Regions from separate parts of the Homo sapiens genome. Here all the other regions are linked to region 5. The links are contacts of gene promoters, found by promoter capture Hi-C in blood cells and fetal thymus (Javierre and others, 2016). All regions are on one chromosome and are shown on one strand. Each heading gives the region's core, a stretch centred on a gene start or on the middle of the fragment in contact. The rest is flanking DNA. Distances are from core to core; before and after follow the strand shown.

The links. Contacts are between HindIII fragments. The CHiCAGO score rates a contact against its expected background, and 5 or more counts as called.
Region 1: a contact is called between a fragment that was not itself captured here and the fragment with the promoter of RBM12B-AS1 in region 5, in 1 of 17 cell types (naive CD8 T cells). The highest score is 6.7, in naive CD8 T cells.
Region 2: a contact is called between a fragment that was not itself captured here and the fragment with the promoter of RBM12B-AS1 in region 5, in 1 of 17 cell types (naive B cells). The highest score is 7.6, in naive B cells.
Region 3: a fragment that was not itself captured here is called in contact with the fragment with the promoter of RBM12B-AS1 in region 5 in 1 of 17 cell types (fetal thymus); the score reaches 7.8 in fetal thymus.
Region 4: a fragment that was not itself captured here is called in contact with the fragment with the promoter of RBM12B-AS1 in region 5 in 1 of 17 cell types (erythroblasts); the score reaches 6.4 in erythroblasts.
Region 6: the fragment with the promoter of PIP4P2 here is called in contact with the fragment with the promoter of RBM12B-AS1 in region 5 in 1 of 17 cell types (M0 macrophages); the score reaches 12.1 in M0 macrophages.

Annotation. Positions count from the first base shown.
Region 1 is chr8:96,240,829-96,245,427 of GRCh38, reverse strand. It overlaps MTERF3 (mitochondrial transcription termination factor 3), which reads left to right. Exons shown (of 8, transcript NM_015942.5): 7 at 1,348-1,509. Among named protein-coding and RNA genes, the nearest start is that of UQCRB, 7.6 kb to the right of the region's middle. The HindIII fragment of the contact is 362 bases long and covers 2,881-3,242 here.
Region 2 is chr8:96,264,121-96,268,899 of GRCh38, reverse strand. All of the region lies in intron 1 of PTDSS1 (phosphatidylserine synthase 1), which reads right to left. It overlaps LOC105375652 (a long non-coding RNA gene), which reads left to right. Exons shown (of 3, transcript XR_928431.3): 2 at 2,563-2,644; 3 at 4,008-4,094. Among named protein-coding and RNA genes, the nearest start is that of PTDSS1, 4.6 kb to the right of the region's middle. RefSeq lists a silencer at 205-499. The HindIII fragment of the contact is 3,019 bases long and covers 1-2,777 here.
Region 3 is chr8:91,073,333-91,077,843 of GRCh38, reverse strand. It overlaps OTUD6B (OTU deubiquitinase 6B), which reads right to left. Exons shown (of 7, transcript NM_016023.5): 3 at 3,933-4,013. Among named protein-coding and RNA genes, the nearest start is that of OTUD6B, 5.2 kb to the right of the region's middle. The HindIII fragment of the contact is 6,066 bases long and covers 1-4,511 here.
Region 4 is chr8:91,017,134-91,022,100 of GRCh38, reverse strand. PIP4P2 (phosphatidylinositol-4,5-bisphosphate 4-phosphatase 2) reads left to right here. Exons shown (of 7, transcript NM_018710.3): 2 at 697-845; 3 at 1,838-1,944; 4 at 3,588-3,711. Among named protein-coding and RNA genes, the nearest start is that of PIP4P2, 21 kb to the left of the region's middle. The HindIII fragment of the contact is 1,299 bases long and covers 803-2,101 here.
Region 5 is chr8:93,737,230-93,742,245 of GRCh38, reverse strand. It overlaps RBM12B-AS1 (RBM12B antisense RNA 1), which reads right to left and starts at 2,135. Exons shown (of 1, transcript NR_027259.1): 1 at 1,427-2,135. It overlaps RBM12B (RNA binding motif protein 12B), which reads left to right and starts at 1,237. Exons shown (of 4, transcript NM_001377960.1): 1 at 1,237-1,365; 2 at 1,550-1,617; 3 at 4,891-4,939. It overlaps RBM12B-DT (RBM12B divergent transcript), which reads right to left and starts at 1,163. Exons shown (of 2, transcript NR_183450.1): 1 at 787-1,163. RefSeq lists an enhancer at 1,211-1,330. The HindIII fragment of the contact is 1,858 bases long and covers 1,183-3,040 here.
Region 6 is chr8:91,038,487-91,043,248 of GRCh38, reverse strand. PIP4P2 (phosphatidylinositol-4,5-bisphosphate 4-phosphatase 2) reads left to right here and starts at 2,390. Exons shown (of 7, transcript NM_018710.3): 1 at 2,390-2,605. The coding sequence starts at 2,500. RefSeq lists a silencer at 2,169-2,368. The HindIII fragment of the contact is 15,293 bases long and covers 1-4,762 here.

The DNA of each region.
Region 1 (4,599 bases), core at 1,812-4,311, 2.5 Mb before region 5:
TAGCAGCCAGCACATTGTTCTCCTTTGCACCTGTCCCAATTGCCAGCTCTCATTCTGTCACAGAATGTACCAGACACTCTTTACTGTCCTTCCTCCAAGAGAATAAGATAAAGCCAAGAGCAGCTGACTAGTTAGTATATAAAGCTGTAGTAGTATTTGAAATATTATATAAGGGCTGTTTTCTGAGGTGAACAGTTCAGTCATTGAAGAAATCTTTTTATTGAGCTCCTGCCCAAGCGCCATGCTGAGGAGACAGCTTCTCCTCCCAAGGAGCTTACAATCTAGTGGGGGATCAAATCCAGAGTGATGGGGGCAGTTACTTGGTGGGGGCACACAGGACACTATGAAAGCAAGTAGAGGACCCGGCCTGTGTTTGGTTGTTTAGTTCCTCATCTCTGCTTGGAATGTTGACATGTCGTTTTTCAGACAACACATATGTGGGTGTACTTGGGAGCAAAAGCTCAAAAAGCATTTTGAAGATCCTGCTGCTGAAGGATCTGTTTGGTGTTGGGCCCATGCCTCTGACCTGCAGCGCTCCCATGTCACTCATTCCCTCTTGTAATTATGGTTGCCCCTTTGGTGAGCTTCATGACCATCATGGTGTAGCTCTTTCTCAGCAGAGGGGTTTGAAATTCTGGTGACCCCAGGAGCCGGAAGCTGTAATTCCTTGAAGGCACTGGCATAGCTGTCTCCAAATTTTAAAATGTTATTTTAAGTTTAAAAGAATCATGGTCAGGCGTGGTGGCTCATGCCTGTAACCCTGGCATGGGAGGCCGAGGTGGGCAGATCACTTGAGGTCAGGAGTTTGAGACCAGCCTGGCCAACATGGTGAAACCTCATCTCTACTAAAAATACAAAAATTAGCCAGGCATGGTGGTGGGCACCTGTAATCCCAGCTACTTAGAAGGCTGAGGCAGGAGAATCACTTGAATCCAAGAAACGGAGGTTGCAGTAAGCTGAGATCGTGCCACCGCACTCCAGCCTGGATGACAAAGCGAGACTCCGTCTCAAAAAAAAAAATCATGGCCAGGCGCGGTGGCTCACACCTGTAAGCACTTCGGGAGGCCAAGGTGGGTGGATCACTTGAGGTCAGGAGTTCAAGATCAGCCTGGCCAACATGGTGAAACCCTGGCTGTACTAAAAATACAAGAATTAGCCAGGTGTGGTGGCATTCCTCTGTAGTTCCAGTTACTTGGGAGACTGAGGCAGGAGATCATGCCACTGCACTCCATCCTGGGCAACATAGCGAGCTCCATCTCAAAAAAAAAAAAAATCAGTGCAGCCTTGCCATGGTACCAAAATAACTATTTCTACATAACGATTCATAGCAAATTTACTTTCTTTTAGGTTTATCGTCTTGAACTTGGTTTTAAACATAACGAAATTCAACATATGATCACCAGAATCCCAAAGATGTTAACTGCAAATAAAATGAAACTTACCGAGACGTTTGATTTTGTGCACAATGTGATGAGCATTCCCCACCACATCATTGTCAAGTTCCCACAGGTAATGCCACTCACAGCTCTCTCTGTAAGCGCTGCCATTGCGCTTCATTTGGAGCTGCTCTCCAGCTGCATAGTTCTGTACGCTGGGAAGAGTTTACAATTTGCAGGGCGCAAATGTCCATCTCCTGAGGAGAAATCAGTGATTAGTCTCTTTCCCTGGAGTTTCTACCTAGTCCTAGTTCTGATTGTTGGAATCAGGCCAACAAATCTAATGTAGTCTCTCTTCTCTCTCATGTTTTTCTCTACTTTACTTTGGAATAGATCACTTCCCTTAAAGGTCCTTTCACTGCTACGTGTACTTTTTAGTCACAGTTTATTTAAATTCATGAATCAATAAGCCATATTGTAATGATCCCCATCCCAATATAAAAGTGATCCAGTTTGCCATCATGCCAAAGCCGTAATTATATTTTCTAAGCTAATCAAGCTTCCATATTCTTTACCTAGTGAGTGATATTATCTGCTGTTCACAAGAATATTAATCTTGAATATTGACTCTTTAAAAGCAGAAACTTTGTCTGATTTATACACTGCCAAATCCTCAGTGCCTAGAACTACACCTGGCACTAAGTAGGCACACAATTAATATTTGTTGAACAAATGAATGATTGGATTTTATCAAAGTAATCCTTTTTTCCTATTTCCTATGCAAATAGCCACTCAGTATTTATTGGATAAATGACAAACTGAATTTTTATTTAAGTGATCCCTCTACTCCATTTGCTAGAACACATGTTCCTGTTTTTGAAAAAAGATGGGTAAAAGAAATATGACCTTAATACAACTCTCAGAACTAGACTGCATTAGGTCCAGTTCCTTCACATACAGCTATATTTATTTGCCTATTATACTTCACTAGGAACGGGCCTCTAATATAGGATTTTCCTATTTTACCAAACGTAAATATACCCATTATAGAAGTGTTAGAAGCCTACAGTTTTGTGAATTTGGCTCATGGAGTAATTGTGAAATAATCTTCAACGAAAAAGAAATGACAATTTGTTTTTCCCTGGGTTGGTGGGTAATTCATTTTTCCAGTATATCACTGAGCATCCATCAGTGCTACACATTGGGCACTGAGGATACAAAAGTCAAGCAGACATGATCTCTGTTCTTGTGGAACTTATAATCGAGTGTGGAAGACAGGTTTAAAAATAGAATTGCTTTATATGATGGTAGAGTCCTAACCAGAGCTCCTACAGTGATTTAGAAGCGGTAGGAGAATTATAGAAGTAATAACAGCAATTGAGTACTTACTGTGTGCCAGCTCTATCTTTATTGCTTTATTTGTATTAACACAGTTAATTCTCACAACAACCATATGAGGTAGATGCTATTATTACCCCTATTTTACACATAAAGAACTTAAGCTTAAAGAGATTTAAGTAACCTGTCCAAGGTTACCCAAGTAACAAGGTTGGGGCAGAACCACGATTAGAACTCCAACAGTCCAGTTTAAAAACCCAAGCCCTTTACTAGGATCTGCTAGAAGTACATTTGAATTGTCTGTAGAAGAGGGAGTGGTGTTTAAAAGATGGAGAGGAGCTTTCCAAATAGAAGAAATTATAAGCTGACCAGATGCATCAAAATCACTTAAAAACACAGATTTTAGGCACCCCAAACCCTTGCCTCAGAGAAGCTCTGTTGTAGAATTGTGGCTTCCAAATTGGGATTCTCAGATTCCTAGAGTCTAGGTGGAATTATTGGGGAATAAAAACAGAAAAATAAAAAGCTTATTAATGAAAAAATACATTAACGGACAGTAAGGCTGTGAATGGGCTGATATAGACTTTACATTTTTGGCTGGTGTTTAAATCTCAGTGGCATGGAACTAATTTTCTCATGTAGATAATATTCCTGGTTGGCAGATCTGACTTACGATTAATTAAAAATGGGGAAAGAAGTATAACTTAATAACTATGATCAATTTAGTCATTTCAAAGAAGAGATCTTGGAAGGTAAAGGATAACAAAAGCAGTTTTAGGGTAATGAATGTGAAGAAATCACTAGGCTAAGGAAAGAGGTTATATTCAGGATCCCCCGAAACCTTCACTCTCCCCTTCCTCTGTGACTTTCTGTGAAGGCAAAGTTGAAGTCCACCTTAGGATTAGAGGGAACCAATAATTCTCAGGCTAGGGGCACTTTTTTTAACTCCGAAGAATTTAATATGTCATTAATAGGATGAAATTTTTGTGCCAATGGCAAAGTAGCCCCTGGTGGCCAACAACTCTCCCCCCACACCACCACATCCATAAAAAAAGAAGGGAGAAACACCGCAATCTGAGCAGTAGCTTTTGGACTTGAAAGAGTACACAACTCTCTAATGATGGAGTAACTTTGGTCCACTGGAGAAGTAAACGTATAATATCTGCTCATAAGCTAAATAAATGCTTTGAAGTGTTATTATATTTAGGAAATTAGTAATCGTTTAGGAGCACCAGAACCATTTGTGGTTTTGTCTGTTGTTGGGTGATAGTTTTTTTTTGTTTTTTGTTTTTTTTGTTTTTTTTTGCGATGGAGTCTGGCTCTGTCGCCAGGCTGGAGTGCAGTGGCGTGATCTCGGCTCAGTGCAACCGCCGCCTCCCGGGTTCAAGTGATTCTTCTGACTCAGCCTCCTGAGTAGCTGGGACTACAAGCGCCTGCCACCATGCCCAGCTAATTTTTGTGTTTTTAGTAGAGACGAGGTTTCACCATGTTGGCCAGGATGGTCTCAAACTCTTGACTTCGTGATCCGCCCACCTTGGCCTCCCAAAGTGCTGGGATTACAGGTGTGAGCCACCGCGCCCGGCCGGGTGATAGTTTTTTAAGCCAAGAATCACTGCATAGGAGTCATACTTCTAAAAAAAAATCTATCTAAAACCTCTTACATCTTCGTTATCCATAATATTGTGATCATGGGAATTTAGTTATCAGAACAAGGGCAGAATAGCAGAGACTGAGAAGGGAGATGTTCTGTTCCAAAAGCAAGCCAAACCCATGTTGAGGTACACCCTGTGCTTTTTTTAGTCACTCTTCTCATAGTACTTTGGTTTTCAACAATTGCTTTTCATAGTGTCCTTTCCAACTGATCTGTTACTGTTTCCACTTGAAT
Region 2 (4,779 bases), core at 19-2,518, 2.5 Mb before region 5:
GTGACTCAGGTAACGTGAGGGGGGAGTCTCAGCCTGACCCACAGGGTCCACTGGCAGCGACTTCCCTCTCCCCTTGCAGAGTGTTGGCTACAGAGGGCTATTGAGACCATCAGCAAATATCTAAAATCCCAATCAAGTTTTCAAACACCTTGGCTTCTTCTGCAGAGCATTGTTTCAGCTAGGATAGGGAACTACCCAAAGAGACAAAGTCTTAACAGCAGGAAGTATCAGGAAAGCCCTGAGTTTAAAAAAAAAAAAAAAAAAAGTTTGCACTCCAAAGAATTTCTGGACTCTGACTCCGATTCTGTCTCAATTTAATATTTGAGTACAGGAATTTGACCAGAGGGGTGGTAACTTCAGGAAACCAAAGCAAAGTCCATTCACTTGCCTACAATCTTTTAGACAAGTCTTTCTCCCTGGGGTCAGGCAGCCAGGAATATCTAACCTTTATTATGATTCCTAAGGCTTCTAGGTTAATTGTCCCTCTCCCCCTCCCATCTTCTCCCTCATTACTTTTAATATGAGTCCTTAAATAAAGACCTATAGGTTCATGTTTAGATGAGTCACTGTTTAAGGATCATCTCTCCCAATAAAAAGTTTAATCCCAGGTTACATGGTAGACCAATGTTAAGTAGCTTAGGTATTATCTTTAATACCACATTCATCTATTTTATAGAAAGTTATGATCCTTGTTAAGAATTATGGGTGAGACATCAACTAAAGGAAAAGAATGGTGATAAATTTTAAGTTCTTATTGAATAAATGATTTCATGCATTCCATTCATTCAGCATTTACTGGATGTCTATCCTGGGATGACTCAGATAACTGGCCTCAAGAAGCTGATACAGAAACTAATATTATGACATGTTAGATACAATAATAACAAGTATTTGGAAGGATATAAACATTTCTTCCTCTGTGCTTCTTGGAACAATTGAGAAAGGTATCTTGGAAGGGAACCATCCAAATGGATTGTGAAGGATGCCAAGGGTGGTGTCATGTGTGGGCAGGAGGTGGCGGGAGGTGCCTTCCAGTCTGAGAGATGGCAGCCCTGCCTAGGTATGGGACACGTGAGCTGCCGGGGCCTGCTGGGTGTTGGGTGTTGGGTGTGCTGTGTATGGAGGGAGGGATAGAGGTGGGAAAGTAGACTTACTCCATTACAAAGGACGCTGGAGTCCAGCTAGTACTTTCCTATAGGTGACAGGCATCTACTGAAATACCGATGTCAACCAGCTTTGGTGTTATCTTTCATACCATACTAATTTCGTTTTATGGAAAGTCACAATCCTTGTGAAGAATTACAGCTAAGTTATCAAGTAAAGCAGGAGAAAGGTGATATGTTTTAAAGTATTTATTAGATAAACGAGAATTTTAAACAGGGAAAGATGGGACCATGATTTTGTCTAAAAAGATCACAGGGGCAGCACTGGAGGGAGGGGAAGCCAGGGCCTGAGAGTCAGCTATCCCAAAGGGTTGGGAGTTTGCTGAGCAAAGGCTTGGGAACGGAAAGAGAACAGTCCCGAAAGCTATAAAGGCCCAATCAGACCTGCTGAAGATAAATGAGATGGTGAACTCCAGGTTGGGAGAAACCTGGGCTAGAGGCAATGAGGACTATGAACTGTTGAATTGAATTAATTGAATTAAATGGGATGCCAGGGCTGAGGAAGCAGTGCAGGCTGACCGGACTAGTCCTCGTTCTGGGATTAGTTAAGACTGAAAAACTGTAACTTCTCTACAGAAATCTGGGGCAATAGGAATTATGTCACAAGATAAATTGTGTTACATCTGGTAATAGAACTACATCTAAAATGCTAAACACAGTTTATTCAGAACAGATGAACTTGAATTAAGGTTGCTTACTAAAGAGGAGTCTGAAAGGCAGCAGTTCCTAGGTATATAATCTCTGTGGGCTGAGGCATCATCTAAGCCAAATAAATATTTAAGTCACCCAAGTGCCCATTCACTGCAGTAGACCCCAGAGAAATATATGGCACATTTCCCCCTTTAACAAATTAGAAATCGTATTATGGACATAAAACTCTGGAAATCAGTATAAGAAAAAATGTAAAACATTAAGTTCAATAAAAAATTTGATTCAAATGGTAACCAGGGAAAAGAAATGTTAACAATCATTGATAACTGGACCTCAGGTGCAACCTAACACAATGTTCACCTCCAGGGCTGGTTTAATCCTAGCCCATAATCACTATAGATGAGCATTTAACATTGCTAGTGTCAGCCAACAAGGGCATGCAGGGCTTTTGTTGCTGGGAGAGAAGGAACATGATGTATATAAAGGAAACAGGATAAAGACAACTGAATCAGCAGTATCAGGGGACATTTTCTAATGGGAATTTATGTGGTCAAGAGGGAAAGAACAGGGAATGCTAGCAAGTATCCATAAGCAATATAATACAGGTGGCCACAAGTATGCCCCAATGATATGACGGTGAACTGGAGTTCCAAAGCCAATAAGGGAAATTAAGTAAAAACCATTATTAACAAATCAATCAGTCAATCAATCAGTCTGTCCATTTCCCTGTCCTTGCCTGTCTCCTTAGTTCTAAATCGAGGAGAAATGAAGCATAGACAAATTGATGATCACTTAAGTACACAAATCCGCAGAAAGGCAACGTCTTCTAGGTAAGTAACAATTTTTGTTGGACAAGTGCTAACAAAGGCTGATTCTACTGTTTAATGGCAGGTGCCTCTTAAGGAGAGGTGGGCTTCTTTGAATGTGAATTAATAGATTCTGGTGTTTTCTAAATCTAAAGCTTGAGTTTTTTAAACTAAAGGCATTCAATATTTCCAAGTTTACCAACCCCTGAATGCAGAGTAAATATGAGGGTATCTTATAGGTAATTATTATACTCTGAGCTTGAGACAAAAGTTTTCCTTGCCCTACTTTGCTAACAAACTTCTAAGACATATGCGTAAGCATTTATTTATAAAAATACTATTTATTTTTTAATAGAGATGGGGTCTTGCTATGTTAGCCAGGTTGGTCTTGGACTCTTGGCCTCAAGCAATCCTCCCACCTTGGCTTCCCAAAGTGCTAGGATTACCGGCGTAAGCCATTGCACCCAGCCTACTTATTCTAAAATGTGGGAAAATAAGTTTTTGGTTTTCTTTTGAGACAGGGTCTCATTCTGTCGAGTGAGTAGGGTGGAGGCTGGAGTATGGTGGCGTGATTCAGCTCACTGCAACCTCTGCCTCCTAGGCTCAGGTGATCGTCTTACTTCAGCCTCCAGGTGCATGCCACCACGCCCAGCTAATTTTTGTTTTGTTTTGTTTTGTTTTGTTTTGTTTTGTTTGTTTGTAGAGATAGGGTTACACCATGTTGTCCAGGCTGGAAATGAGCTTTTTCAAATAGGAAAATGATTAGGTAGTATCTAACTTTATTTTTAATGATGGTGATAAAGACAGGAGATATTTAAATACTATGGTTTAACAGGGAATTGACCTAAGGGCCATCTAACAAAAGAACTACTTGACAAATCCAAACTTGTCTCAGACTTCAGTGCAAGGTATCTAATCCTCTGTAATTTTAAATTCTTGCTGGATCTCTGAAGCATGTGACAGTACCCAAGTACTGTTTCTCACATACTGGTTATATGACATCCCAAAAGAATCCTATCTCCTCGTTCTCTTAGACAACTAGTCTTTGCAAAACAAACTTTAAGACATATCTTTTAAGTTTTACTGAAAGAATTGCACTGAACAATTGTCCAACTAAAATCTTATAAAATAAATAATAAGGCACTGGAGTTAATCATTACAAAAGAACATAGGATACATTTTCATTTAAGAAGTCGTTACTTTCCGTCTTTATGGAGGAATATAGAGCTATCATTGTAATGCCCCACTTAAGTCACAAATCATTACAAAAAATGAGTAAGATTTAGTAAGTACGAATTCTATTAATGGTGCTTATGATTTTATATAAAGTGAAACTTGTTATTAATTAGTTCTTCATTATGTGATTTCTGTCTCTTTATGAAATTAGTGGAAGAAATAAAATTGTTAACATTTTTGGATGAGACTACAGTCTGAAGTTCAGATTATGGTTCTTCTATTATTTTGGACAAGCTGTTAAAATTCGTATTCATTTCTTATACTTTCACTGCTGCAATTTATTGACTGCCTTGACAGAATATGATGTAAAAGGAAATTTCAGAAGATTGTGACTTTTTATATCAGAAAAGAGGAAGAGAAACCTATTTTGAAAGGACCTAGAATAATATTAAAAATGAAAGGCTGAAACAAATGGCTCATTCTTGCTTCTCATTATTTAAAACAAAATACCATAATTATTTTTCTAATTTCCAGAGAAACTCCCTCACTAATTTCATTATTTCAAGCCCACACCTAAGATGAAGTTAAACTGAAGTTAACATCAAACAGGTATGTATGTTATCTAATGTCCATTTTTCCAGTGCTTTTATCCTTCTCAATTACAGAGCATACTACATCCTCGTTCAATAATAAATATAAATTAGAAGACAGTAGCATTCAATGAAATCACATCGTAATAACCACTAATGTTTATTAAGCACTTAATACTTGCCATGCACTGAGCTAAACAGATTATCTAAAAAGATGAATTTAATCCTCATGACAAATAATCCCGACAGATTAATGTATTGATATTTTCATTTTACATACAGATAAGGAAACTGAGGCCTAGCAAAATTATGTGGCCACACAGCTATTAAGTGATAAAATCAGGCAACATAATGAAGTATTTGAAAGTAACCATAGTTAGGGACATGATTCAT
Region 3 (4,511 bases), core at 1,730-4,229, 2.7 Mb after region 5:
AAATTAAAATATAAGAGAGAGACTCAAGCTCCCCATAACACCACTGCCATCCCAGTGCTTGCTCTAGAGGTTTGGTATGCATCCTTCTAGATTGTTTTTCCATTCATTTTAATAAATATGGTATACTCTTGAAAATATGTATAAATTCTTAATAAAAATGGTATCATATGTTACATTCTACAATTTGCTTTCCTTATGCAAATGTCTGATAAGCTCCTCCCATGGAAACATATGCAAGGATGGAGTGGGGTGACGGAAATGAGAGATTTGTGACATGAAGAATAGACAGGAGGTGTATAGGGAAGGTTGGGGAAGAAGAAAGGAAAAAAAATTCCTAACAGATGGACTAGTAATGATCAAAAGCCAGAAAGCACTATATGTTTCATAGCTAAAAACAGTTCCTAGAGCTACAGTGCCAGAGAAAACTGTCAAGAGATGAAATTGGAGGCAAAAAGCATAGGCATATAATTAATATACAGTAGGTCTATACTTAACATAGGACTAAAAAGAAACTACAATATACACAAAGTATTTATAGTGCTTTTTTCTGGATGACGGGATTCCAAAATAAGTTTTATTTTGGGGTGTGTGTATGTGTATGTGTGTGTATGTCTGTATGTTTTTCTGCATCTTTCTAATTCTCTATCATATATTTTGTTTGTACACTCAAGCGGAAACTGCTTTATAATTTAAGAATAAAAACTAAGTTATATAAATTTTGACATTAATAAGTTACAGTGAAGGATTTGGTAAGCCAAGAATAGGAAAAGGTAAAGACTTCCATAACACTAGCTCTGATTTCTCCTTGGAACAAAAGTGAATGGGAAGGCAAGTTTCAATTAAACTTATTGTCATGTACCTGTACTACTTGCCTGTTATGTGCCATGCTAGATGAACCTAAAGTGATTTCTAAGTTACCTGAATCAAAAGCAGTAATATCTCCCTAATAAAACATAGCCTATTTAAGGTTTGTATAAGTAATAGGAACAAATTTATTTCACTGTGTACCTAGAACTGTGGATCACAGAGGCATAATATCTTAAAACACAAGATGGCACTATTACTTTATAAAAGACTAAAAAAGTTTCAGAGGGGAAAGGAAGAATAAGCACCTTAGATATCATCTAATCCAAAACCCCTCATTTTCCTCTTCTGAGGAAACAGCACGCAGAAAGATTTCCAAAGGCCATACAGCTGGTAAGAGCAGAGCAGGGACCAAGGACAACACAGAGAGCTCCTTCTATCCAGGCACCTGAATCAGAATAAAAGTTGGAGCAGATGGGAGCTGGAGTTAATGATGTCATGTACTATTTACTGAAAGAGTGGCACTTTATCTTATCTGCAAAACTGTTTAAGCCTCTAAAATACTAATTCTAATCATTTCATTTTTTTCCCTTCATGCTTTGCTTCATTAGAACAAAGCAATTGAGTTTCCTTTTCAGGGCACTAGGTAAGAAATCCACTGAATTCTTTTTCCAGCAATATATAGTTTCCCAAGAGCACTAGGCACTTTGGTTTCTACAGCTATAGTAGTGGAGATAGAATGGCACTAATAAGTTCTAATAAAAACGTATAAAAGATGAAAATAGCATGTAAATCATAAATATATTGTCAATAAAACTACAGTCATGTTGATATAGTAATATAACAAAGAAGATTCAAAGGGAATATTAAGAGCTGGACACCAGTCCTGGGTTTGTATCAAACTTTTAGTGTACAATTGAGATAACTTGGGTCTCTGCTTTCTCATTGGAAAATACAGAAATTGAATTCAATCTCATTCCAGCCCTCAAATTCCATATTTTTGAAACCCAGCTCTTCTAAGTTCTATTTTAGACTCTTTCTCTCATATCAAAAAGTTTGTAAGTTCTTTGAATAAAATACTGTTTTTCTAGACTAAAAATAAGAGATATGCTCTACAATATTCCACGATATTCTTAAAATAAATCTTGACAAAGTTTTATCACGTTTTTCTTCCAGAGTTGTATCCTTCCCAAAGATAAACATCATTAATTAAATGACTTTGCATTCCTTGGTGCTTCTAGCAAAAAGGAGGTTCCAAATAATCTAACACCCGATTGTGCATCCTGACTTCAGGTTCCATTTTCTTAAGCATTATAAACGTTTAATGTTTTCTGTTCTAAAATCCCATTAATATAACCCTGTAAAAACATTACTTGGGCATTTTTTCTACCAAGTGTTAAAGCAGCTGACTATAAAAGATACTAAATGGTTTGAGAGTATAACTGACAAAAGTATTAATTCCAGTTGTGCAGTATCTTAGGGAAAAAGTAACAAAATTTTTGAGAAAGGTAAGGGAGTTTTCGTTTTGTTTGTTTTGTTGTTAGAGGTCCAGCTGGGGAGGAACAAGTTTTGATAAAGATAGGAAGAACTTGTGCCCTTAGGTTTTCCAGAATTAAATAGGCTATTATAAGATGTTTCAATTACTAAGTAGACGTAATTCCAATGTTTTGTTATGCTACTGGCATGCAAAAATTCTGCCCTTCCTTTTTGATCTATAGAAGCTAGACAATTGTGAGATCATCACAAAAGAATGCATATCCTAAGCAGACAATCTCCAAGATTCCATGAGATCTAAATTTTATGAATCTACAAAATTCACAATTATATTTACTCAAAAATAAAATTCTACACAAGAATGAGAAATGTTGGACTATGTGCATTTCATCAGCTTGCAAACAAAAAAAGACATTGCTTTTAGGTTTAATTTTTTAAGAGGCATAGTATGCACTACTTAACACAGAAAAAGACATTGCTTTTAGGTTACATTTTTAAGAGGCATACTATACACTACTTAATATAGAAACAATACTATCATTTGTTGACCCATTAGTTCTCCAGGCCTTGTGTTAAAGGCTTTGGAAATAGTACAGTATTTAATATTCACAATGAATTAGCTTATGAAGTAGCTATAATTTGCCCCCGTTTTATAGATGTGAAACTGAGGCTTAAAGAAGAACCGTACCCAAAGTATAACAGTAAATGAAATTAAAACCTCATCTGTTTGACACTAAACTCCATGCTCTACTAAATTACATACTATGTCATAAGATGCAAAATGAATTTAAAAATATGCATTTAAACCATAGAAAACATCAAGTGTTAATAAAATAATACTCGCAACTAAAAAGACTGAATTTAATCATTTTTCTTTTTCAAATTCAAAGGGACTTACCTATCTAATCTCATTTCCATAATGCTGATATGAACTAGCTACTTCCAATAAATCAGTTTCCTTATAGCTCTTCAATAATGCAATATATCACCCCCACATTTGTTTTTGTGCATGCTGCTCCTCCTATTTGGAATATCCTATCTAAATAATATTTCTTTCAAATTCCAACCCATTATTAGCATAATGAACTTTCCCTTCTCTAAATTTTCATAATTAACCATTATATAGATACCTACATAATTCTCTAAGAATTTTGTATACCTACACATGTTAACTTCTAGGTTCAAATCCTTATTTCTCACCCAATGGTATAGTTCTTGGCTAGGGTTGTGCATCAGAATCCCCTGGGCCCACATTCTGAATTTTTAAGTCTGGGATAATATATTTGTAAAAAAAACTACTTTGCACTCCCACTCCCAGCTTCGCTCTCCTATGAGAGCTGCAACCTGAATACGTTATTTTATATTATCTTAGGATCATTTTCTTCTCCATAAAATGGGGATAAGAAATCCTACTTCACAGGATTATTGTCAGGACTAAATGAGATGTCATATAAGCAGCTTAGCATAGTATGTGACACACAGCAGGTGCTTAATAAATGTTAGTTCAAGTGCCTAGACAAGGAACTGCATCATTTTTTTTTCATTCTCTTCCTATAACAAGACCTAAGATAGTACCTAAGATAGTATTGAACACACAGCACTAACTTATATACTTGGTGACATGACTTTCATACCCGTCTCTTTTGTGCTTTTGATATCCGAGGTGGCTGATTCTCAAGCACCAAGTTTGAAATGTTAACAGCAACAGAATCTATCTGAAGGAAACAAAAAGCATTAACAAGTCAATGTACTTATTAAATTACTGAAAATCATAAATATATCTAATCCCACATTTCAAATTTGAGTAACAGCAATAGACACTGTATTAGATAATATGGTTTTGTCTCCTGTTTCTATTTTTATGGAAGAATTTGACAAGTTCCCAAGAAGTTTCTTTCAAAGATCATGCTCATCCCTGCATGCTTTCCTTCCTTCTTAGAATGCCTACTCCATTAATCTAAATGCAGTACTGTACTTCCTGTAAGCGCCAACTCATTTAGCACTCCACTCTTCTTTTCTCTGACTACTGCCAGTACATATAAGATAAAGGTCCTGTGCTGGCTCAGTTCATTATTACCTGCATAACCTCTACTGGCAGCAGAGGCCTTTTTCCATCTTAATTAGCCAGAACCTGATGAGTACTAATCCTTGACCCTAGTAGCAAGTTGAGCTTTTCCTACCCTACCCTTTTCCATCTACAAACTGATAACTGC
Region 4 (4,967 bases), core at 203-2,702, 2.7 Mb after region 5:
TTTTTTACTCATAAACACTTTGGTGCATTTCTTACATTTTTAATGGTAGGTAAATTTTGAGACTAAAAATTGTTATATTTACTTTATTTTTGTTTTGTGTCTGAAATTAGCATGGTTCCCATTTTTGTTCCATGCTGAGAAGTTTAGTTTTCTTAGGTTCATTTTTGTTTCTTCTTGACTTCCTCCAACACCTTGTTTTATTCTTGTCATAGCCAGCAGTCATTATACTGGTTCCAATATAAAGACAGAGCATGACAGCTACATAATTTATATGTATGGATAAGCAATTTTAAAACTTTGCTTTCATCGACCATTTTTATTTCCTGGGAATCAGATCACTTGTGTAAAATTTTTATTGTAGGCATAAATTACCACTCTCCTGTTAGAGACTGTATGAATTTACTAATAGGAATGGAGTGACATTTTGAGTATAGATTAGTAAAAGGAAACTGGGTTATTGGGATAGACCTAGGCAAACATGATTTAGATTTTATCAGAGTTAAGAATTATTTTACTTGATAAGAGTCTCATGGATGTTTGTGCTCTAAAAGTAAGATAAATTGGCTAGCTTTGAAAAATAAATAAAAGAACGTGGGAAAATCTTGATTGTTTCTTCTTTACTTATATTGCCTCTATACTCAAACCAGCCATAGTAATTTCTCCAAGACTCTGATTCAGTGACTAATATCTTTTCAGCGGAGCTCCCACCTCCATATACAGCCATTGCCAGTCCAGACGCCAGTGGTATTCCAGTAATAAACTGCCGTGTGTGCCAATCACTAATCAATTTGGATGGCAAGCTTCACCAGCATGTGGTTAAGTGCACAGTTTGCAATGAAGCTACGGTAAGTGGAGATTTCCATTAGAAAAAATATAAATTGTTATTTGACATTTTATTCCTAAAGGAAGTACTTCAATAATGTTACTTAAAAGTATATGTGGGCTGGATACAAATATGGTAATCTTTTTTCCTGTCTTTTCTTCTGTCTCTCTTTCATCATAGGATACCTCACTGTGTTTAAAGCTAACCCCATTAAGAGAATTTCATGGTGAATTTAAATATAATGCCTTTTGGCTTTTTACTTTCAAAAACTAGACTGAGCATGGCAGTTACGTATAAATACTTTCAATATCTATCCACATCACAACTACATTCATTCTTGTTTTCATTAAAATGAAAATATTGTGTACTAAACTTCATTACAGATGTAAACTTTGCCCTATTTATGTGGAAAATTATTTGAAGTTATTTTATGTCTGTAGGATGTCACTATTGTTTTTCTGGGCTTTTGTGATTATGCATTTATTATTAGCATCTGTGCCAAAGTGTTTACAAATAGTTTGACATTTTATTCAATTTAGTTGATAGTAATTTAGGAATGTTTAAAATATTGAATAACACCTTTCCTTTTTTAAAAATTGAGCTTTGGGGAGCAACTAAATTTTCAGCAGTATTTTTATAGCTTCAAGTAATAAACTGGTAAAGCATACACTGGTTTAGATGAAATATATTTCTTTCATAGTTAGGCTTTATATATTACATTTTGATCTCTCAAAATCTGCAATTAAATATTAATTTTATCTTTGATGTTTTATTTTTTTCTCTTTAGAAAAGACTAAAAAAAGTCAGCCAGTGATTATTGTGTCTTGAAGGACCACAAAACATGAATACTTGACTTCATATGTTTTATAGAAAAATCATAAAATAAAACCTTAAGTTACAAAAGCAATATATTTCATTAGTTTTAATGGAATCCTTTCCTTTTTAAACACAAACAAACTTTGACAATCTGTACTTTGGTTAATTGCTGTGTTTGCATTTTCTTCCCTTATCCAGCCAATCAAAAACCCCCCAACAGGCAAGAAATATGTTAGATGCCCTTGTAATTGTCTTCTCATTTGTAAGGACACATCTCGGCGAATAGGATGCCCAAGACCCAACTGGTAAGAGATAAAGATTAATTCATTGATTCATTCATTTGTTCATTCAACAAGTATTTACTAAAGGTTCTTCAGTGCCAGGCTTTGTTCTAGAAAGAGTTTTTGTTTTCAAAGTCATTCCAGAATCTAGATTATTTTTTTGTTAAAGGAATGATAAGCTTAGTTTGAACTTAGTCATAGATATTTGTAGGATATAATATTCTTAAATGAGCAATGAATGTTTTCTTTGTGTTATGTAAGTACTTAATGCACTGTAATAAATCAATGACACATTGAACGTATTTAAAAATAATGAGGTCAGGCCAGTGGTTCATGCCTGTATTCCTAGCAATTTGGGAGGCTGAGGTGGGAGGATTGCCTGAAGCTGGTAGTTTGAGACCAAACTGAGCAACATAGTGAGACCCCATCTCTACAAAAAATTAGCCAGGTGTGACAGCATGCACCTATATTCCCAGTTACTTGGGAGACTGAGGCAGGAGTATCATTTGGGCCTAGGGATTAAAGCCTTCAATGAGCTATGACTGTGCCTCTGCACTCCAGCCTGGGCAACAGAGTGAGACCCCATCTGTTAGTCTCTCTCTTTTTTTTTTTTTTTGAGACAGAGTCTCAACGGGAAGAGTCTCAAAAGAGTTGGCTCACTGTGACCTCTACCTTCTGCCCTGAAAGCCTTCCCACTATAGCCTCCTCCTGAGTAGCTGGGACTACAAGCACACACCACCACTCCCAGGTAATATATTTTTTTTTTTTTTTTTTTTTTTTTTTTTGTAGAGACAGGGTTTCACCATATTGCCCGGGCTGTCTTGAACTCCTGGGTTCAAGTGATCCCAAAGTGCTGGGATTACAGGCATGAGCCACCATGCCTGGCCCATCTCTTAAAAAAAAAAAAGTAATCACTTAGTTTACTTTTGATATAATTAATCTTCACCTGCAAGTGTTTTAGTTATTTTTGTGTATCTCACTGTATATTATACTAATCTCTGCTGAATGTATATGTGCAATAAATTCTGGAATTATTCGCTCATGCCCAGTACCATTATGGATGTCCCCAGATACAAGTATATAAAGGCCTTACTTGTGTTTTTTTTCTGTGATCTCTCTAGCTTTTTGACCATTACATGAATCATGTACAGCCCTATCCAATGATAGACTAGAGAATAGAAATGAAAGCAGGATCCTGTTTGCTTTCTTTTCATCTCTGATTAAATACGCATCAAGGAATATCACACTGCTCAGAGAAATTTGGTTGTAACCCAGCCCTTCGGTGCCTTCATGGCACAGAGATTTTTGTTGGTATAGAATATTTTTAACTTAGTCTTCTACCAAACTCAAGTTGGCTTCCTAGATAAGGAAGGGTAACAACTGTTTTCTGATTTGAACTTACAAAAACTTGGAAATGACAGTTAAATGGTTGCCATTGATTAGGACCAATGCTATAATATATTGTTTCTATCCCAAGTACAGACTCATATTTTGCTTTTGAAAAACTGACTGTTGCTACTCTTTGTAGTTTTGCCTCCAGCTTGACATTTAATTCACTTAATTTATGAAACAAGTATAGCACATTTCATATTTTTGGCCATATGTTGCAGGTTTTGCTCTCAGTCCATTTGTGGGATAGTGAAGTTGTTTCCTTTCTCTTTTCACAGTAGACGGATAATTAACCTTGGCCCAGTAATGCTTATTTCTGAAGAACAACCAGCTCAGCCTGCATTGCCAATCCAACCAGAAGGTACAAGGGTCGTGTGTGGGCACTGTGGAAACACATTCCTGGTAAGTCACTGGACATTTGTCATTAATCTGTAAATATAGGTCATGATCTTACAGATTAGAGCACTGCTCATAGTCTTATAGTTTTGTCCAAATGCAAATTAATCAAAATATTAAAATAGAGACTTATTTAGGCAGACAATCAGAAGTGCAACTAGGATATAGAGCATCTTCTGTGAACTAGATAAAAGGTACGTCCTCTGATAAGTCCAGTTGCAAAAAGGATCCTCTCTATGTAGGCCAATGAGAAATCGTGCCCAGGCTTAGTTCCATGAGTATCTTGGCTTGGGGAGCAGCTGAGTCTTAGCCCTGCTCTCACCTGCTCAGCAGAGGTCAAAGTGCACAATCTCATGCAGTAGATTTGCTTCATGGCTTCTAGATTGAGGAAAAATTTGAATAATAATTTATCAAAAATTTTCTGACTTTTATAAATTATTCTTGGAGCAAAGGGAATTAACACTGTTACCCATAATTAGATAAAACCATTAGATAAAGAATAAGAAAGTATAAGTAATTTGATATGAGCAAAAGTTATAAAAGTTTTTGTTTTACTACTTCTAACTTAAACTTAGTTTGATTTTTTTTAAAGTTAAATTCATAATTAACTTACCCTGTCAGGAAGGATAAGGACAGGTTTTCTTTTATTGTTCAGCCCATATAGGAGACAAACATTTTCTTTAGAACTTGAATATGAAAAATATTTATCAGAGTATACACATGGGAGTCTAAACAAAACCTGCTGTCACTAAGACATGAATGAGCTTAAGAAAATATAAGTGGTTTGCTTTTTTTTATTTGTAATTTTACTTTTATTAAAGAACTTTATGTATATAGTTCTAAATGTCAAATGGGACTGCAATCTTCTCATCTAGCTGACCCCTAGTTACTGTTCCCAAAATGCTTTCAACTCTTTCAGCTACTTTATTGATAGTCACTTCTATGTGTTTATTTTTTATAATTTTTAAATTTTTATTTATTTATTCATTTATTTTTTGAGATGAAGTCTCACTCCGTCGCCCAGGCTGGAGTACAGTGGCGTGATCTCAGCTCACTGCAACCCCTGCCTCCCGGGTTCAAGCAATTCTCCTGCCACAGCCTCCCAAGTAGCTGGGATTATAGGTGCACACCACCACACCTGGCTAATTTTTGTATTTTTAGTACAGATGGGGTTACATAATGTTGGCCAGACTTCTATGTGTTTAAATTGCTTATCCTTTTTCTATTTGATTAAGCAATTTTAGACATTACCCACTAAATAG
Region 5 (5,016 bases), core at 886-3,385:
AAATAATTTGTCCAGTGAGTAAAAGATGGCTCTGATTTTGTGTTAACTATCTTTTTATTTACTTATTAAACTACCTCTTCTTTCTTATAATCATATCATTAAAGAATGGGTATTTTGCAGTGAGAAAGGGATCCACAACTCACTTTTTCTGTCATCTGTAACAATGTTTTTAAAATGTACTTTCTGCTTAATGAGCTTTGAATCCATCCACAAATACATCAAGTAGCTATACAACGTGGTGGGAAACTTTGTTATTTGCAAATGATAAAACCAAACACAAGGTTGTTCACCAGCTATTACGTAGCAGGCATCACAGAGTACACCTGTAATAGTGCTTTTCCATTACTGAAATTTCAGTACTGGCTCATCTGTTCTCTTGTTTCAAAAATCCAGAAGATGGGAACAAATTTATAAAGACACTTCACAAGGTTATTTATATCTATAAAACCGACTAAGCATGCATTTATTAAGCCCCCAGGTGTTGGGATTGTACTTGGCGAACATCTAAGGCAGTAAAATTACCTTTTCTGTGGTATTCTAGGGTCTACAGGAGCTTTTTTATTTTTGTTTTGAGATGGAGTTTCACTCTTTTGACCTGGCTGGAGTGCAGCGGTGCGATCTCGGCTCACTACAGCCTCCATCTCTCGGGTTCAAGCGATTCTCCTGCCTCAGCCTCCCGAGTAGCTGGGATTACAGGCGCCCGCCACCATGCCAGGCTGACTTTTTTGTATTTTTAGTAGAGACGGGGGTTTCGCTTTTTGGGCGGGCTGGTCTCGAACTACTGACCTCAAGTGATTCGCCCGCTTCGGCCTCCCAAAGTGCTGGGATTACAGACGTGAGCCACCGTGCCCGGCCACAGGAGCTTTTTAGAAGATGTTTTACGCCACACAGTAATGCAACACTGAAAAGACAAGTCGCCTTTTCTCTGCTTTTGCATCTCTTTCCTTAACTTCTGGAAATCTTTAAAGTTTGTCCGCCGTACTTCGACAGTTGTCTACCGAAGATTCTCAGCACATCTACCGGCTGAGCCCTGAATGTGTCTCTGAATTTCTCCCGTTGAAAGTCGAGGTCCCTGGGCTGGGCAGAATCTGGGCATGCGCAGAAGCTCAGCCAACCCCGGGGCTCCGCCTCCCCTCCTCTAGCGAGGGGAAACGGGTGAGCGGCAGCGCGCGTGCGCAAGCTTGGTGGTGGGTTGCGCCTGCAGAGCGCATGGGCAGATAAACCGTACGTCCGTTTGTCCGGACCGGAGGGGCAGTGGGCGCCATCTTCTTCTGGGCTCACTGAGGGTCTACCTGTTTTGGGGAGGCTGCTGCGACGAAGAGTTCCCTCAGCCTCCGGCCTTGTGTGTCCGACTCGGCAGCAGTGGTGTGTGTTTATTGCCAAGTGCGAAGCAGTTCCCCTCGGGGCGCCGGGGGTGGGGAGGGCTGGGCGACCAAGCCGGAAGAACGGGGAAAGGCGGGACCGGCGGCCGCGCCAGTATCTAGCGTAGCTCCTGCCGTTAGGGCACCCTCTTTTCTTGCTAAAACACCGACTCTTCCTTTCCCGTCAGCTTCCATGTGGTGGTGTATGTGCGCTTCCCAGGGATCTTGAGAGTGAAGATCTCGAAGGATTTCATAGGTATATTTTTTTCTTTGCTATGTCATCGTAGTCAGTGGTGGCAGAAAAGCGCTGCAGGCCCAGCTCGTTAGGCTTGAGAAGGGCAAGTGTTTTCAGTTAGATCTGGGGGCAGTTCACCCTCTGGCGAGTTAGGGTGGAATGTTTGCCCTTGAGACGGCGTAACGGAAAGGCACGGAGGTTGGGCGGTCCAGGTTAATTTGAAGGCTGATTTTGGCTGAAAGTCTGGCGACAACATCGGATCCCACGTAGCAACTTTGGCCTGGCGCGAAAGAAGGAAGCTCTGACCCCTGGGAGTTGTGGACAAAGGCTTTGGGCTGTAGAATCGATGCCTTCGGATGATTCCCGTTTGAGGATGTTGGGAGAAATCCTGTGCCATGTGGATTCGTCTTCATTTACAGTTCTTCCTAGGGACTGTGGCTCTCATTGGTCATTCCTTTGGTTTTTATTTTAAACATCTACATTATAAAAGGTGGATCATCGTAAAGAATAATTATGGGTTGGTGTAGATTATTTTCTGCAGGGGAAACTCACGTTTAGAGTGTGAATATGCTACATCATGACCTTGGGCTTTACGAAGTAGTCGCAGAGTTAAAAAAAATTCTCTCCCTCACCATATCTGGAAAATGACTTTTTCTTCGCTAGTTAAAAATCAAATGGATCTGATGAGATATTACTTATTTAAATTCTGTCTCCCTCCCGTTTCCCTCTCTGTATCCCCTTAAGTCTTGATTAGAAGAGGCACGTTACGTATTGTTTAGTTATAATGGTGATTAAGTGGGATGAATCGTTGGATAAAAATAGCAGTTATTTAAAATGCGCTTTAAATTTCACTGACTTAAGTGATCTTTTAGGGACCCACTCTTCTTTTCATAGAAATTTTAACAGATTATTGTCTTCAAATGAACACAAAGGCACAAAAATACTTTTTGCATTCATAACTAGAAAAACGCAAAATTTTAATTGCAGACTACTTGAGGGTAATTTTCGTGTTTTGCTTTTGTGTAATTTAGTGTGTTAAGAGTTGAATTTCTGGAGAATTTGCTTAAGGAAATATAGCATGTTGGAACCACAGAAGTGCCCATTTTGAGAGCTGGTCTCTTACAGTTGGTCTCCAAGGTGTGTTATTGTAGAGGCATAAATGGTACATTACCCTACTGTCTCAAGGGTAGAGAAGTTTAAGCATTAGTTTTGTTTAACTGTGGCAAATGAGAATAAACTTTCTAAATAGTCTGCTTGAATTGGAATTCATGAGATTTGTGCTCATGAAACTACTTGGTTAAAAGATAGTTTTTAAGTGAGGTAGGATAAATTACTAGAGTTTTTTTGAATTTGAGATATAATTATTCCTTGAAACGTCTCTAATTTCTCTTGTAGATGAATTTATGTTCCCAGGGTAAATCCCGTTAAAATTTTTTTAAAAGCTTAGGAGAGACAAGAATATGTATAGCTTATGGTGCTTTCTAAAATATCTTAAAAAGAGTAGCTAAGCCAATTTGCATAGGAGGGAGTCTTGGGACTTTAATATGGATAAAGTAAGTATTCCAGAAGCCATTTGTAGTTTTTGTTGAAGTGTTAGTATGGATATTGGTTTGTTGAAGAAAATAGGCTTTTTTTCTTTTTTTGTTACTGTGCAAATACTTTAATAGCAAACCTGATTAATATTTTTCAGATGTAGAATGTGTGAAGTAATTTGATGTCTTTGCTAGTTTAGCTTCTGGTTAATCTACGTACCCTTTTTTAAAGGAAAACAGACCTCAGTGAATGTATCTTCAGACCCCCACTTTGGGGAACAGTGGTACTTAAGTGTAAGTACTGGATTCTGGATTAACGCAACATTTATTTGTACATTAAAGACATGTAAATTACTCCAGGCGCAGTGGCTCATACCTGTAAATCCTAGCACTGTGGGAGGCTGAGGTGAGCTGATTGCTTGAGCCCATGAGTTCCCTACCAGCCTGGGCAACATGGTGAAACCCTGGCTCTACAAAAAATACAAAAATTAGCCGGGTGTGGTGGTGCACACCTGTAGTCCCAGCTACTGGGGAGGCTGAGGTGGGAGCATTGCCTGAGCCTGGGTAAGTCGAGGCTGTAGTGAGCCAAGATCGCACCAGTGCACTCCAGCCTGGGTAGCAGAGCAAGAGAGACCCTGTCTCCCCCACCAAAGAAAGTGAGTGTAAATTATAATTATTTATTTGGCAAGTCTTCATGAAATAGTTTGGGTATCCCTGAAAGTATTAAACGCAAACTTCTTTAAAAAATTACATTGAGATTTTTCAGTAAACGGGTAATCCCAGTATTCCAAGTTAATTTTTAATTTTACTTTTCTACATCATCATTTGGGTTTCCTTAGTAGAGTGCAGAATAGTTGTTTGAAATGGAAATCTGCTATTGGCATTATTAATAAGATAAATAGCATTTTCTGTTTGGCTTGAGATGAATTGTAACAGTTACTATTTTTGCAATAGGAGTGGTATTGAGATTTTTAACTTTAGGGATATTGTAGTATTTGCCTTAATTATACTGGCTTCATGAAATTTGGTTCTGTGCTTGGATGTATGAGCTGTTTATATAGACCTTTAAATTGTATCCAAACAATAGCCCATAGGTTTGGATTTATTGTTTTAAAAATTGATTTTTGAATTTCAGGCTTTGCTGTTTTATTCATTTATTGTGTAATTTTGAATGGTTGCCTTAATTTGATTTGGTCTTATGTTTTGAAAGGGAGGAGAACAGCACGAGAGTTGGATATAAATATGTACTAGATTTTTGGATTTTCATGTGGCAAAATGATTGAAGTTCTTTTTTTTTTTTTTTTTTTTTTGAACTTTGGGTATTGAGATTTTACTTGTAGAACAGTTTTTTGAAGTAGATGTAAAACTTGTGTACAGCAAAATGTATAGACCCTAAGGATAGAATTCAGTAAACCTTGATAAATTTATACACCCATGTAACTACTGCTGCATTCAAAATATGTAACATTTCCATCACTCCTTTCTTCGTGCTACTTCCAATCAAGAGCAGTTGTTAAATTTTCGGCAAGTTTCAAATTTTTAAATAATTTTTATATGTCTATTTGGATATTGTATCTCCTTTTTGCAGAAGGATGATTAATTTCCCCTTGGAACAAAAGACCATTTTGTAACACCCGTAATTGTGGTTCCTTATTCTGCTTCACTTTTGATAGGTAATTCTGAAATGGATATCCTACTCTGGCGTTGTTTAAGATAAATTACAGGGTTCAAGGATTAATTATATTTCATTTTCTTTCCACAGTTAAGTTGCTTTTACAGAGTTAACAGGTCTCCAAGAAATTTTAAAAAAGGTAAGATATCCAGAGTTTAAGGCTTTGAGGCTCAACAAAAAACATGTGAAGTAGAATAGTACATCTAGGTATCCATG
Region 6 (4,762 bases), core at 1,141-3,640, 2.7 Mb after region 5:
ACAGGTAACACGACAGAATACTATAGTAGTAAGATTTTGTTGATTTTTCTCATAATTTTCTTTAACTCAATAGTCTCCAGGCTGCAGTTATAAAAACACTGCTGTTCATTTTTGTAAATTACAGGCACTTTTGCAGGAAGTGCTACATCTTGATTCTGTACTTTCCAGGTTCCTGGAGACCTAGAAATGCCCTTATATCATATAGGGATCCTTATATTGTATTGTATCCTGATGCTACTGATCCACAAAAGATGCTGCGTGAGTGCAAACATCATTATTTGATTTCCCCTTAGGATTTCCAGCTGATGCCTAAGTGGATTTTTCTGGAAGAAAGAATGTATCTTTAGAAAGCAGAGTGAGGATCCTTCCTAATGTAATTTGAAACATAGTTTCGTATGTCTAACTTCTGCTTTGCCTCATGCTCACTGAAATCTACAGCTAGCCTCATTTTCCACTTGTTTTTGACTCTCTCAGGCATCTTGAGGATTGAGATCATGTCGTAGTTATCTTTTAGACTTAGTAAATGAGTAATAAATGTTTCTTTTGAGTGACTCAAAAATTATTGCAGAAAAATTATCATCCTAGATCATTACTATTTTTCTATTGCATTTTTATTTAGACATGTTCAAAACTTTATTTATTTTTTTTTTTTTGAGACGGAGTTTCACTCTTGTTGCCCAGGCTGGAGTGCAACGGCACGATCTCAGCTCACCTCTACCTCTGCCTCCCGGATTCAAGTGATTCTCCTGCCTCGGCCTCCCGAGTAGCTGGGATTACAGGCATGCGCCAGCACGCCTCGCTAATTTTGTATTTTTAGTAGAGATGGGGTTTCTCCATGTTGGTTAGGCTGATCTCGAACTCCTGACCTCAGGTGATCTGCCTGCCTTGGACTCCCAAAGTGCTGGGATTACAGGCGTGAGCCACCACGCCTGGCCTCAAAACTTTAATTTGTTTTCATATTCATGTAAACTACTTTTGGATAATATGACAAACCACCAAATAAAAAAGAAAAGAAAAACATATAAAACATGGCAAGAACTGTGTTTTTAAAGAAAAAAGTTATTCAGTGATTCTTGTCAAAGCATGGTAAGGAAGACTGTATTTAGGGCTATAGTGATAGGTATAGGGACCATGGCAGCAGGGTCTTGCCATGTTGAAGAAGAGATTAGGCTCAATTCTGAATGCAGCATGGACAAGTGGGAATTTATAGCCTAGGAGCATGCAGGACAGGGGCAGTAGATGGAAAATTACCAAGGAAATATCAGGGATAAGGGGGATTCTGACTAAACCAAGCAAACGGGATTCTTGCTGAAGACAGAACAGGAGTTCAGGCCTCACATGGGGGATGCTGGAGGATGAGGAACCTGATCAAATATCAATATTGAGAATGGGGCTTCTTGCTAAATTAAGTTAGTAGGGTTCTTTGCTAAAACTGGATTTTATAAGGAAGTGCAGATGGGCCCAGCATAAGATTCAGAAACCTTACTTGTTTGACCAAGCAAAGAATCTTTGTCAGTGCTTAGGGTTTTTTGTGTTTTAACTCTGTTTTACAAGTAAACGATTATTTTAAAACTTTTGTCTCAAGAAACTTGTTTTTCGTTGTTTGACGTTATTCATAAACCTACTTACTGTATATGTGTCAGGGACAATAGGCTACAAAACCAAAACTAAGATGACAACCTATTTTGTAAAATGAAACTTGTAAAAGGCAACACACTGCATAGTTCCAAAAAGGTACTGTTACCAGAGTTCCAAACCGGTCAGGCCAACATTCCTGTTGTTAAAAAAAATCAATCAGGAAAAGTAGGGAATGCTGACACTTCCGCAAAGATCTACTTTCTCTTAGATAACAGATGTTGAAAACTGATTTCCCACAAAAAAACCCTAGAGGAATTGATAACCCCAGGAAGATGTTTTCTTTATATAACTGCTGCAAAGTTTGACAGCAAAGAGTCAGTCCCTCCTCCTCCTTAGGGGAGATAAACTTGATAATCTGCTTTTGCTCCAGTTTTCTTGTAATCAAGTCACAGGCCTTTCCTCTTCGCTAGCCCCTTTCAGGCTGCTTTTTATCCGTCTTTCCTAGAGCAAAGGACTTGTCCCCCTCCATCCCATTTACTCTCGACCCCCTTTCAGTTACTTGGCATCTTCTTTTCCTCGCGTTTCCCAGTTGGTCCTAATTTGTTCCCCTTTTCTCTGGCTGGCTGGGCTCCCGCTCCTCCACTGCTGCTCCTCCCACTCTGCGGGTTCTTTCTTTCTCCCTCCCCTCCCCTCCCCCAGCCATGCCTCCCAGCGCGCTTCCCTTCCCCCGCCTCCTGGTCCTGCACCCTCCCCTCCCCTCCCCCCGCTTCCTGCCTTGTGACACATCCCGGGCCCTCCCGGAGGCGGCAGCAGCAGCAGCTGCAGCGGCAGCAGCGGCAGCAGAGGCAGCAGCAGTAGCCACCACTCCGCCGAGGCCGCAACCCCGGCTCGGCCTCCCCAGGCCCCGCCGCTGCCGCAGTCATGGCTGCTGATGGGGTGGACGAACGCTCGCCTCTGCTGTCAGCATCCCACTCCGGAAATGTCACTCCCACCGCCCCACCGTACTTGCAAGAAAGCAGCCCCAGAGGTAAGGCCAGCGTAGATCCCTCTACTTTGCAAGGAAGTAGATTTGCAAGGAAACGCCCAGAAGGATAAAGACCTGGGAGCTCTAGCTTGGAGGTGGAGGTGAGCCTCTCGCTTGGGCTGAGGAAGGATGCTGACTGTGCCTTCCCAGGCAAGCCCGCCTGCCTGATAGCTTCTCCGCAGGGTTTTTCTGGTGGTGGTGGTGATGGTGGTGGTGGTGGTGGTGGTGATGGTGGTGGTGGTGGTGGTGGTGATGGTGTGTGTGTGTATTTCACCACTTCTTACCCAGGGCTACAGTATGTGACATGAATTTCCCAAGCTCTGCTTAGCTGTTTTCAGAACAGCCCCTAAGCGCAGCTAGGAGGTGGTGCAAATCTTTCACAATCATTCACAAATCTTTTTCCGTTGCTGAGAAACCAGGAGTATTGCTCACCTTGGCATCTGTCCTTGAAAGGGCTTTAGCTTGAACAATATGCTTCTGCTACCATTCACCCAACAGTGCTCTGTTCACTCAGTGAATTGCCATATCCAAAATGAATACAGTTAATCAATATTCCTAATATGTCTGAAATTCCTGCCCCTCCTTTTTACTCCTACTTTCAAGGAGTATGTGTTAGATTTAATTGTGAATGAGAAGGAAGGACCTTACTTCTCATAGAAGGGAAGATGGGATATTTTTAACACATATCTGGGTGAGATTGAAATTAACTTGTAAAAAGTAACCCAAATTAATAATACATATATTTCTATTTTTTTCTCAAGAAGAATAAAAAAAGATTAAATGCAATGGGATCTGGAGAAATATGGAATCTATTTACCATACTATTCGATTTATTTAAAAATCGATCGTTGTTCTAAGCCTTTTAGTTGATTACTATAGTAAATAAATAAGGTGGAGTCAGGCGTTACAAGAAAATGGAAGGCAAGACTTAAAAAAACCCACTTAGGTTAGTGAAAAGATTGGTCAAAATGGCACTTGCAAATGTTCCTTAAGTGCATCTCTCTCTTTTTTTGGCTAAATATGAGCAAAGTTTAAAAACCCAAGGAAGCAAAAGTTAATGATTTTGAAAATATAAGTAGGTAATGTTTCTTGTAATACAAGTTTTTAAGTTCAAGTCTGGAATTAGAGCTGATGTAGAGCAGGTTGAACTTGCTTAGTATTTAAAATTTCTATTTAACATTTTGTAACTTCAAAATAAACTATCTAGATCTTAATCCATACTTAACAAGAAGAAAAACAAAGGAAAAAGATGCTTAGCTGTAAATAATTCAGTGTGAGCCATGGCTTGAGAAATAAGGCACAGAGAGAGACTTGCCCACAGAAAACCTACAGGTCATTTTTGTTGGTCAGCATTAAACTTGTATCAGAGGACACCAGGCAAGAGAATTTCCTCTAATGGGCCAATTTGATATGAATATTTTACTGTTATCTAAATCGTATTATGTAGAATAGACTTAAACACTCACTAATGAATGTTTCAACTTCATCAAGTCAGCCTTTTATGGCAAAATGTTTGGCGGTTTATTAGGAGACAAAGTTTCAATTTAAGTATTTGTCCTATAACCTATTTTCATGCCCTCAACTAGTGGATAAGTTATTTTTTAAAAATGGCTACACTCAGGGATCAGCTTATAGACATCTTTATTATTTTCCATATATTTGTTTAACCTAATAAGATTCCTCAAACTACACAAGTATAAGTTCCAGTTCAGCCACTGAGAAAAAGTAGTGTCATTGTAGAAAACTTTTAACAACCAGAGAAATTCAATGACTTAGCAAAAAGCTGCTTCTGCCTTATGGTAGAATACATTTTTTCTTAATTGGTGAATGAGACAGGTTAGATGATTAGAGAAACTCTTAATTTCATATGACATAACACCTACTAAGGAAGAAGCATAAATGAGAGGTAAAAGCATTTTATTTGCATTTTGACAGAATATTTTTCTTCATAAGTAACAAACATTGTAATAAATATTATGAGTAATACACAAGATCTGGAAGACCACCACTATTCATTCATTTATTAATTTATTGGGAAGCACAATGTGCCATACACTGCTCTAGGGGAACAAGAGTGATCAATCCCATACCCTCATGAAGACTATATTGTATTAGGGAGAAAGAATAAATAAATACATGGCTGAATTATTTCAGATTGTA